Regions from separate parts of the Homo sapiens genome. Here regions 1 and 3 are each linked to region 2. The links are contacts of gene promoters, found by promoter capture Hi-C in human tissues and cell types (Jung and others, 2019). All regions are on one chromosome and are shown on one strand. Each heading gives the region's core, a stretch centred on a gene start or on the middle of the fragment in contact. The rest is flanking DNA. Distances are from core to core; before and after follow the strand shown. Region 1 overlaps EBF2 (EBF transcription factor 2). Region 2 holds the start of DOCK5 (dedicator of cytokinesis 5). Region 3 overlaps EBF2 (EBF transcription factor 2).

The links. Contacts are between HindIII fragments. The study calls those that stand out against the background at their distance.
Region 1: a fragment that was not itself captured here is called in contact with the fragment with the promoter of DOCK5 in region 2 in 1 of the 25 tissues and cell types used here (lymphoblastoid cells).
Region 3: a contact is called between a fragment that was not itself captured here and the fragment with the promoter of DOCK5 in region 2, in 1 of the 25 tissues and cell types used here (lymphoblastoid cells).

The regions. Positions count from the first base shown.
Region 1 is chr8:25,902,709-25,906,652 of GRCh38, reverse strand. The region is part of intron 7 of EBF2 (EBF transcription factor 2); the gene reads left to right. Among named protein-coding and RNA genes, the nearest start is that of EBF2, 140 kb to the left of the region's middle. The HindIII fragment of the contact is 3,511 bases long and covers 1-3,155 here.
Region 2 is chr8:25,183,413-25,187,388 of GRCh38, reverse strand. It overlaps DOCK5 (dedicator of cytokinesis 5), which reads right to left and starts at 2,700. Exons shown (of 52, transcript NM_024940.8): 1 at 2,438-2,700. The coding sequence starts at 2,480. LOC124901912 (a long non-coding RNA gene) reads left to right here and starts at 3,012. Exons shown (of 2, transcript XR_007060861.1): 1 at 3,012-3,976. RefSeq lists silencers at 2,403-2,452, 2,623-2,792, 2,803-2,882. The HindIII fragment of the contact is 16,568 bases long and covers 1-3,976 here.
Region 3 is chr8:25,926,266-25,929,872 of GRCh38, reverse strand. The region is part of intron 6 of EBF2 (EBF transcription factor 2); the gene reads left to right. Among named protein-coding and RNA genes, the nearest start is that of EBF2, 120 kb to the left of the region's middle. The HindIII fragment of the contact is 5,568 bases long and covers 1-3,607 here.

The DNA.
Region 1 (3,944 bases), core at 151-2,650, 720 kb before region 2:
TGGGACTACAGGCACATGCCACCACGCCTGGCTAATTTTTGTATTTTTAGTAGAGATGAGGTTTTGACATGTTGGCCAGGCTGGTCTGAAACTCCAGACCTCAAGTGATCCACCCGACTCAGCCTTCTAAATTGCTGGGATTACAGGTGTGAGCCACCGCTTCTGGGCCTACTTTCTTGTATGAAGAAAAACAGAAATAAAACCAGCCTTCTTGGGGGATCAAACAGGAACTTCGTGCATGGTGGAAATTCACTGTGCTCAATATTCCAAATAAAAATGTAAATAATTTCAGTCCAAAGAAGAGTAAAATTCAAAAGAATTCCAAAGTGCCTCCATGACCAAAGCTTAGCTTTATTTCTAGAAGATACAGAGGCAGAGAAAAGAGAGTTGGCAGTTTGGATTTTTATTCCATCCTACTTTCTACCAGCACTTTCAAAGAGTTTTAAATTTGAGAATTTGAGGATACTCTTGTAAATGTGAAGAGGCTTCCATTGTAGGAGAATGCCTTGTCATTTTCTTTCTCCCAAAGTTTAGGAATATATTCACAAAGCAAATGCATGCTAATATTTCCTCTACTTCTTTAGTTATTTACTTAAATGGGGTTTTCATGGTGCCTGAGTTTTTCATTGGCATAGAATAAATATTGTTGATCTCAAAATGATATAGAATTCTCATCCTATGTGAAAGTATTTGACTTTTGCAAAGACAAGGGCAAAAAGAATTGTTTAGACTTTGTGGATTCTCTGATTGTCTTATTTCAAGGGTAGAGCTAAAGTCAACTGGCAATTTGTTTGCATTTTTTACTGAGATAAAATTCATATAACATACAATTCACCATTTTAACCATTTAAAAGTGCAGGGTCCAGTGGTTTTTAGTACATTCAAAGTGTTGTACAACCAGCACCACTATCTAATTCCAGAACTTTTCTATTATCCCAAGAAGAAATCTCATGTCTCCCAGTTCCTGTTTCTCCCCATTCACTGGCAACCACTAATCTACTTTCTGTCTCTATAGGTTTGTCTATTCTGGGAATTTAACATAAATAGAATCATACAATATGTGGCTTTTGTGTCTGTTTTTGTCTGTTAGCATAATGTTTTTAAAGTTCCTCTATGTGATAGCATGTATCAATACTTCATTCCTTTTTACAGCTTGACTATTCCATTGTATGGATATATCACATTTTAAAATTCATTAGTCAGTTAGTGGACGTTTGGATTGTCTCACTTTTTGGCTATTACAAACAATGACACTGTTAGTATTTGTGCACAGTTTCACTGTGTGACATATGTTTTTAATTCTCTTGGGTATACAACTAAGAACAGAATTTCTGGGTCATATGGTAATTGTTTCTTTAAGTTTTTGAGGAACTGCCAAACTGTTTTCCATAGTGGTTGCACCATTTTACATTTCCACTGGTAATCTGTGAAGGTGTCAATTCCTCGCCAACACTTGGGATTTTCTGTTTTAAAAAAATTCTAGTCATCCTATGGGTGTGAAGAGGTATCTCATTGTGGTTTTGATTTGCATTTCCTTAATGATTAGTGATTTTGAGCATCTTTTCATGTGCTTATTGCTCATTTGTATATCTTCTTTGAGGAAGTGTCTATTTAAATCCTTTGCCCATTTTTTAGTTGCATTATTTGTCATTTTATTGTTGAGCTGTAAGAGTTCTTTATATATTCAGGATACTGGCTCCTTCTCAAACATGTGATTTGAAAATATTTTCTCCTATTCCATGAGTTGTCATTCACTTTCTTGATAGTGTCCTTTGGTGCACAAAAGAATTGGCAATTTTTATACTGTACTTAGATTCTACTAAGAATATAACCTTCAATGAAAGCTCTCTCATAGAGAAGGTTATTATGAAGACAGGCTTAGCAATATGCTATCATAGTCAAGTAAGAAACTTAGTTCAGGTTCCAAATATGAAACAAAACCAGAGAGAGTGCATACTCATGGTGGTAGGACAGTCATCTGAATGGATGGTGACTTTCAGAAATTCCTAGAGTATGTATCTCACTCAGAAGGACAAAGACAATCATTTAGAGCCATATACACAATTCCTTCAATTCTCTACTTTTGTGATATGATCAAACATAAATTTAATATGAAGGATTCTTTCGTGAGGATTTGATCTGAATGGAATAGAAATATGAAAAATTTCTACCCAAATCCTGAACTCTATAAAACTCTCCCCCCTCCTTCCCTTACCCCCAAACACTGGTGGAACCTGGATTCTTTTTACAAAAATCATCCAATCAGACCAAAATTGTTACATCAAGGTTATTTTCAAGCTTGAACCAATCCTCTCTTTAATTTCATTCAAGTCCTAAGTATTATAGGACATAAAAAATACTGAAACACAAAGGGTTTTAACCCTTTTAACCCTTTTTAACCTTTTTTTTTTTTTTTTGGCCCAGACCCCTTTAAGAATCTGGTAAAAGCTATAGTCTGTATCCCATTGAAATACTACGTTTAAAGTTTTAATTAAAATTTCAGGGGTCTCCAGACCACTTGAAATATCTCAAGCTTCCATGGACCTCTAGTCTAAAGAAATGGAATTCATTTAAAGCCCAATAGGCATCCTTCATGTAAGGTAACCTTTAACAGTGGGGATCTGTCCACTTAGGACTTTTCCTGGTGATCTCTCATCCACTCTCTTGGCTTCAAATGCTCTCTGTTCCTGGATGATTTCTGTATCCATATTCTCAGACTTCTTTAGAGCTGCAGGCATATAATGCTAGCTTCCTTCTGGGCATCTTCCCTGGATGACTAATGAGCACGTGTTCAAAACAGAACTCACTGCTTGTTCCCTGATTCATTCCCTCCTCTTTCATTGTCAAAGTGTCGCTGCCTCCTCCTAAGTATCTATTAAATCCACCTCTCTCCTCAAAAGCTGCCACAGCCCCTGTCTTTTTTTTTCTGTTTTTGTTTGTTTGTTTGTTTGTTTTTGAGACGGAGTCTCGCTCTGTCGCCCAGGCTGGAGTGCAGTGGCGCGATCTCGGCTCACTGCAAACTCCGCCTCCCGGATTCACGCCATTCTCCTGCCTCAGCCTCCAGAGTAGCTGGGATTACAGGCACTTGCCACCACGCCTGGCTATTTTTTTTTGTATTTTTAGTAGAAACGGGGTTTCACCGTGTTAGCCAGGATGGTCTCGATTTCCTGACCTCGTGATCCACCCGCCTGGGCCTCCCAAAGTGCTGGGATTACAGGCGTGAGCCACCGCGCCCGGCTGTAGCCCCTGTCTTTATTCCTCCCCTGTCTAACCCGTCCTCAGCATGAATGCCAGAGTTACCTCTTAAAATATGTCAGGGTGCTAGGCACAGTGGCTCATGCCTGTAATCCCAGCTCTTAGGAAGGCAGAGGCAGGAGGACAACTTGAGCCCAGGAGTTTGAGACCTGCTTGGGGAATGTAGTGAGACCTTGTTCTCCACAAAAAGGAAAAAAAAAAAAAAAAAAACCCAGACAAAATGTCATGAGGATGCCGCATTTACCCTGATGTGATTACTGTGCATTGTATGCCTGTGTCAGAATATCTCATGAACCCTATAAATATATATGTCTGCTACGTATCCATAAAAATTAAATACATACACCTACTAAAATGGGTATCAACTGTCCATGGACACAAAGCCTGGATTTAAAAAGGCATGGCTGAGAAGGCCACTCAGCCTCTGCCTACCAGGAAAACCTGCCATGCCTGTCCCAGAAGTTCTCATCTGCCTGCTGCTCACCACACACCCATCTCTGATTTCTGTTCCATCTAGGAAGCTTTCCATATGTTCACCCCTCTGCCTGGGAACCCTTCACCCCTCTCCAACTTGTGACTCCTTTTCATGCTTTAAGGCTACAGCTGAATGTCACCACCTTAGTGATGCATTTTCTGACTCTTCCAAATGGAGCTGTTGGTTCCTGGGTCTGTGCTGACACACCCTTCTC
Region 2 (3,976 bases), core at 1,451-3,950:
CACACACACACACACACACACACAATTTCCACCCATATTTCCATATACATATATATATACACACACACACATATACGCATATATACATATATATGTATATACATATATACATATATGTGTGTGTATACGTGTGTGTGTGTGTGTATATATATATATACGTATATATATGTATATATAGTTTTTTTTTTGAGATCGGGTCTCACAGTATCACCCAGGCTGGAGTGCAGTGTCGTGATGGGGGCTCGGTGCACCCTCAACCTCCCAGGCTCAAGCTATCCTCCCACCTCAGCCTCCTCAGTAGCTAGAACCACAGGCACAGGCGACCATGCCCGGCTAAATTTTTTTCGTATTTATTGTAAAGACCCGTTTGCCATGTTGCTATGCTAGTTTTGAACTCCTGGGCTCAAGCAATCCTCCTGCCTCTGCCACCCAAATTGTTGGGATTACAGACGTGAGCCATCGCACCTGGCCCAAATATTTTTCTTGACTGATAAGTGACACAGTAAACTGACTCCAGAACATAAAAACAAAATATTAAAAACAATTATACTTGCTCCTAGGACTATGGCAATAAAAACCACATTTTTGAAACATGTTTGCATTAATTACCCTCAACTGAATAGTTTTGAAAAGAGCTTTTAATCCTGATAAAATTAGAGTTGATAACATTTCTGTAGTGATTGGGCATTGTAAATATGCTTTCATCTAGGGGCCAGGTGAGGTGGCTCATGACTGTAATCCCAACACTTTGGGAGGCCGAGGCAGGCGGATCACCTGAGGTCAGGAGTTTGAGACCAGCCTGGCCCAGATGGCGAAACCTGGTTTCTACTAAAAATACAAAAATTAGTCAGGTGTAGTGATGCAAGCCCGTAATCCCAGCTACTCGGGGAGGGGGGCTGAGACAGGAGAATTGCTGGAACCTAGAGGTGGAGCTTGCAGTGAGCCGAGATTGCGCCACTGCACTCCGGCCTGGGCGACAGAGTGAGACTCCCTCGTCAGTCCGTCTCAAAAACAAACAAACCAAAAAAAAAAAAAAAAAGAGCCCTGAGGCAGAAGCAACATCTCTACCCATTTCTGAGATGCAGCTAAGGGAGAGACTAAGATTCTAAAAGCAACTTAAGAGCAAAAAAGAAAATGTCTTTTGAATTGAGGGAAAACAAAAAATAATAAATATATAAAGGATCACAACCTAAGAATAATATAGTAAATATGAGACTGTTAAAAAACAAAACAAACAACAACAAAAAACCCTGACTCCTGGCTACAGAGTTGAAAAGCCCCTAGACACGTTGAGTAGCTCTTAATTGAGACTGCACTTCATTAACCAGTGAGGTGAGGAAAAACAGGACCTCAGTAAGGGAGTAAAGTCAAAGACTAAATTACAAACAGGCCAAATGAATGGATCTGAGAGGAAGTGATAAAATTCGCAACACACTCAGCCGTGTTTATTGTAGGGAATCACCCCAGGTCTAACTGCCATTGTAATCACCCCGTTCAGGGCAGAAGTCTTCCCACAGGCCCTCAATAACTTCAATCCTTGATAAAAAGCCAAAGGAGCCTGACTTTCCACCTGGGTCAAAATCCCCGCACATCTATTGTTTCGGAGCCAAAGCACCACCACCAGCAACCCCTGCGCACAACCCGGGGCTCTCCAGCACCGCTGTTCTGAATGCCAAGTGCCCAGCACGGGGTCTGGCACAGTTTCCTTAATAAAATGTCCTCTTCTCGTCTCCAGGATGAAACTCAGGATCCGGAAGGCAGCCTTACACCCTCTCCAGACAGGCTCCGTTAGGGGATGAGTGCGCACAAACAGCCCCAGGGGCCAGCCACCCCCTTCCCGTGCCACAACTTCCTGTCCCTTCCATCACTTCCACGCCACGACTCTAGTTTCCATCCAGCTCACAACTGTCATCAAGATCCCAGTCTCTGGAGGAAAGGGGGCAGGGCGGCTTTCCACCCTCAACTCCTCACTTAAGGGGCGTCTGAGAAGAACCTACGAAAGCGGGGGGCAGAAAGCACTGGGACAATGAGCACCAGTCCATGTGCCGACCCGGGCTGGTCACCTACTCCCAGGTGAAACCCACGCTGGGCGCACCGGGGCGAGCCACAGAGCTGCGGCCCCAAAAGAGCAGCAGGCGCGCCCCCCTCGCGTTGACATTTCCCTGGTGTGAAGTGCCGGAGATTGGGATGCAAGAGCGGGATTACGGTCCCGAAGCTCAGCTGCACTTGGAAGCACTCGGAGTCCCCAAACCCTGGGCGACTTCCCCATCGGCGCTCCCTGGAGAGGACTCCTACCGTCCCCGGCTCCCAGAGCTGCGCAGCCGGGCCGAGCCCCCGGCCAGGGTCCTCCGCCGGGCTCTGCGCAAACCTGGCAGGGCCGCTGTCCGCGAACTTGGCCGCGTGGGTCGGGCCGGGACAAGGTGGGGCGCGCACTCACCAACCCCGTACTTCTGCCTCTTGGTCGGGATCCAGCGGGCCATGGCGGCGACCTCGCCCCGCGGCGGCGGCGACTAAGGCTGCTACAGCTCCTCGGGCTCCGGCCGCCGCCGCCCCGCGCTCCTGCGTGCCCCAGACGCTTCCGCCATGTTCCGCCAAACTTCGCTGGACTCCGCGGGCCGCCTCCTCGCCGCGCCGCCCGCGCCCGTGCCCGTGCCCGCGCCGCCCGCGGTCACCTGCTGGGCCGGGCTGCAGCGCAGCAGTGCGCGCCCCTCCTGGCGCCGCCCCAGTCCCTCCCGCCGGCCGCACCCTCCGCCCGCCGGGGCCGCCTCCGAGCCGCGGGCGCCCGGCCTCTCCCGCCCGCGCCGCTCTCTGCGCTCTGCCGGGCGGGGGCCGACTGCGGCTCCGCCTCGCGCGCTTCCCTGGAGCGGCTTCCTGGGCCGGCGGGACTTTGACGCTGGCGGCACTTTGCCTTTCTCCCGCCCTCCCCACCCGGCTGATACCCCGGAGGCTGGGTCCCGGGGGTCCGGCTCCCGACAGAGGGCTGCGCTGGAGGAGCCGGGCACGCCCAGGCCGGGCGGCCGGTGGGCGAGGGATGCGGGCTGCGCTCCCACGGCGCGCGCCGGACACTTGGGGAGCGGAAACGGATCAGCGAGAGCGGCTTCTTGCTCGGGGCACCTCCGGTGCCTGGCACTAAGCGGGCGCGCAATAAATATTTGTTGAATGAATGAGCAGTTGACTTCTGCCTTCACCCCCTGGAGCTTGAACCCGCGCCGCGAGCGGGAGAAGCCGGACTCAGGGCAGACTGAATCTCCCGGGGCCACCGCTTAGAGCCTGGAAAGCAGAACTTTTATCACCGGAGAGCTGGTGCAAGGGAGGTGGGCTCCTCAGAAGTATCAGACCGTTTGCTAGGGGATCCTCTGCAGGGAAATTGTTTAGAAAGCCCTAATTTGGAAGTCCTGTATCCCCAAACTCCGGGGACCCCCCAACCTTAAGCTGAAGAAACTTAGACCCTCATGCCCAGACCTCCCTTTCCCAACCAGCCAGCAGCCCAGAGAGCATTCCCGTGGAGAAAGGGCCAAGGCGCATCCCCGTCTTTTCTCCGTCAACGACTGCCTTTTCTTGACGAAGATCCCAAAGGGGCTGCGCATTTGAACCGCCTTGGGCTCCAGGTGGCGCCCTCTCTGGAGCTCCCCTCTTGGAATTCATTTCTTCCTGGAGAGACTTGGAGAATGAAGATCCAGGGGTTTCTCCCTACCTTGTACCGAGAAGTAACATTGCAAGTAGAGTAAATGACCAGCTTAATTACGTTCACCTTCGAAGAAGATTCCTCTAGAGAGAAATTATATCCTCCTTGCAGCCTGTGAAGGTTTTCATGCGTTTTAGGAATATAAAAGAAAGGAAGACAAACATGTAGTAAAGATAGTAAAGACAGGTAGTTGGCCAGGCGTGGTGGCTCATGCCTGTAATCTCAGCACTTTGGGAGGCCGAGGCGGGTGGATCACCTGAGGTCACGAGTTCCAGACCAGCCTGGCCAACA
Region 3 (3,607 bases), core at 254-2,753, 740 kb before region 2:
CTCTTGTGTGTAAACCTTAGCCCTTTCTACCCCATTTCCACCATTTTCCCACTGATACCCGGATCTGTGCCAGGCCGGCGAGCTCAGTGATGGGGAAGTAGGTGTGTGAAGAACAAGACTGTGAAGACTCAACCAGGATCAACATGACCTTACTCATGTGTGTTTAGACGTCCCAAGGAGGGAGTCATTGTGGACCAAAGGATCCTGACTTACAAGGGAGATAGCATTTGTGTGTGCTCTGAAAGAGGAATAGAACTTAGAAGATTTTTTTTAAGCACACATGTTTATTAAGGAAGATTTCAAAAGTGGAAAAAAAAAGTACCCGATAGGAAGAAATGAAGGCACATAGTGAAAAAATCTTGAAATAGAGAAGCTCCTTGCCTTAAAAACAGAGTAAGCCCACAATAAAAAGCCTCGTCGAGTGTCTGCTCTCAATAAGCATCGTACTAAGTGCTCTAAGTCACCATAGACCCTGACAAAATGTTTTCAGAAGGAAAAAATTTGCACTGATTACTTCTCTCTCTAACAGGAGTTGGATTAGGACAGTGTGTTTTAAACAAGCAAACTGTGGAGCCAGGATGCCCTGTTCACATCCCGTCTCCACCATCTGGTAGCTGTGTGACCTTGTGAAAGTTCCTTAACCTCAGTTTCCTTGTCTGTGTAAGACAGGGATATTGATGCGATAATATCTCACAGGACTGTCGTGAGTATTTAAATGAATCAACATGAGCAGATCACTGCTCAACACTGAGGAAGCATTAATTGTATTCTTCACTCTTATTAGTTGTAATATTACTTTCCATTGAAATCTGTCTGCATAGTTCTTTTTGAACTGATTATAATAATATAATACAACTCCTGGTTATTGAGTGTGGAGATAGAGGCATCTCACTGCGTCAGCACTTAATACATGAGATTTTGTTTAATCCTCGAAAGCATTCTGCATGTTAGAGCCCTCCTGTGTAGCAAGTAGGAACTCCTTGCTGGTCTGTTTGTAGTTTGGCCAAGCCTGGTCCACTTCCTGGTGGAAAGAGGTGTCCTCTAGTTCCTTTCTCCTCTCCATTTCCCTGGTTTTTTTTTTTTTTTTTTTCATTTAAAAATCATTTTATTATTAATCATTATCCCATGTAGCCTAGTGCCTGACATGTATAAGGAATGTTGGTAAATACTTCATTTAAAGCTTCTTTGTACATATTTCCATTGTTAAACTCTGAATTCACATAAAAAGTTAAACTTAATAACTCATATTTCCTTCTCTTGTAACAGGCACGTATTGGTAGAATATAAATATTCTTGGGCTCTGGCTTCGTTCTAAGTGAAGACAGTAATTGATCACATGGTACAGCTATTGACAATAAAACCAAGAAATTGTCAGCTGGTGTCCTGGCATGGACTAGTGCTGAGGTGGGAAATAGAAAATTCACATTTGGTTTCTGGGCCAAGTTGGGGCAGGAATGGTCGTGGGGAGAAGAGGACAGGGAATGAGTCAGATGGGAGCATATGAAAGATCTGCATGGGTTCTCTTGCTGTCTCTTGCAGCTAACCCAGATAAGCCTTAAGTTTATGAAGACCAGGTTTCTAAGAGGTTCTTCAATTCCTGCAGCATGTGGAAATCCAGCGTGTGCACCTTAGATGGCAACAGTCTAAAGAGAGTGGGTACATGTCTCAGGAATCCACACTAGCTGTACTTCTAATTTTTTTCAGTATGAATTCAACCTAAAAAAAACCTTTTACTCTTACCAGATTCTAATTTATTCCTTTTCCCTTTTAATTAGGGGAAACCCATTTCTGACAGATTCGCAAAGTTTTGGCTACCTTTGTGTGGAGGATAGGAGAGGAGACAAGCCGTGTTCCTTATCTGATGGACTTTTTTATAATATATATATTTCTATTTTAATCAAGTGGAGTAAATACATTCTGGGCTTTTCCTGAGGCAATGTGGGCCAGGTTTTATTCATGACAGGGCTTTCTTATTAGAGTTATGAAATCCTTGTAGAAAAGTCGGGGATTTCTCAGAGAAGATTTTTAAAAAATGCAAAACTTGACACACTTTAATTATTTCTGCACTATAATAACAATATTATATAAACCCCACACTGTTTAGGACTTAAGTTCCAACTGAGTACATTTTAGCATGATATATACAAATAAGAGTGTTCTAAGGCCATAGCCAAGCCAATCACAGGACTCCTCTGCCATCCTCTCCCCTGTCCCCTCTTCTAACACTCAGAGGGAAGCTCCTGTGAGGTTTAATGTGCACCAGGAACTCCAGCAGGAGTTGCCCACCCTAGCAGAAAGGACCACATTATTTGGTGGTTTTACGTTCTTTTGTGTTTTCAAGTTTCTATAGTGATAGAAGTTCTCTCTAGAGTGGAAATTTCCTGTTGGTCCTTGAATCAGCCAGGGTTCTCCAGAGAAAAGGACCAATAGGAAATGTATATATATCATGTATATTATATATGATATATAATATACATGATGTGTATATAATATATATAACATACACGATAGTATTATATATAAATATATATGATATCTAGATATATAAATACATGATATCTAGATATATACAAGATAAGGAATTGGCTTATTGTAGGGTGGGGTGGGGTGGGAGATGGCAAGTCTGAAATTCATAAGACAGGCCAGCAGGCTGGAAACCCTGGCAGAAGTCAATGCTCCAGTTTTGAGGCAGAATTTTTTTTTTCTCCAGGAAACTTCAGTTTTTGCCATTGAGGCCTTCAACTGATTGGATGAGACCCATCCACATTATCAAGGGTAATCCCTCTACTTAGAGTCAACCAGTTTGTAGATGTACCTTCAGTGTAACACCTAGATTAGTGTTGGATTAAGTAACTGGGTGCTAGAACCCAGCCATGTTGACAAGAACTAACCATCACAATCCTGAAACTCTCTTTCATCTACGGAATCCTTGGACTTCTGAATCCTCTTGCTGGCCCGGAAAAGATCATGTGGACCTCCTCCTTCATTCCAGGGGGATAATCTGATCTGTTGGAGATCCTTTGCTCAGATCTTCAGGGCAGTTTGGTGAATTTACGTTGCCTCAAAGGTGATGAATAGAACTCTCGAATGTACTTTCAAAGTCTTGCTGAGAAATCAACTCCTGTCTGTGTTGAATGGTAGTAAAATCTCTTAGGAAAGAGCCTGGGAATGTGGAGAGGACTCATGCTTCTGGGAGTTTTTATGCCTGGACTTTGACAAAGTGGAACATATGGAGGAATCAATGAGTGTCATAGAGATGGGATCAATATGCAGACTTTCTGGACTAAATGGACACCCTCAGTACTGCACACTGTGAGTCAGAGAAGGTGATGCATACAGACAAAGATACATCCACATTGTCGAAGTATAAAACCGATGTCCAGCTCACAGAGGCAAGAGTCTTCACCTTTCTGAGCTATTTCCTTAGAGACTTGATCATCATCTCATCTAAGCAATAGTTTATTATTTCTTAGCCAACTTGGGAAGATTATTAGAAAGGTGGGGGTGAGAGGAGACACATCCCAGGCCCGACACAATGTTTCCAAAATACTCTCTTTTCCCAATGGCACCAGTGAAAGTGGGGGAGCCAGCCTGCCTTGGATTCAGG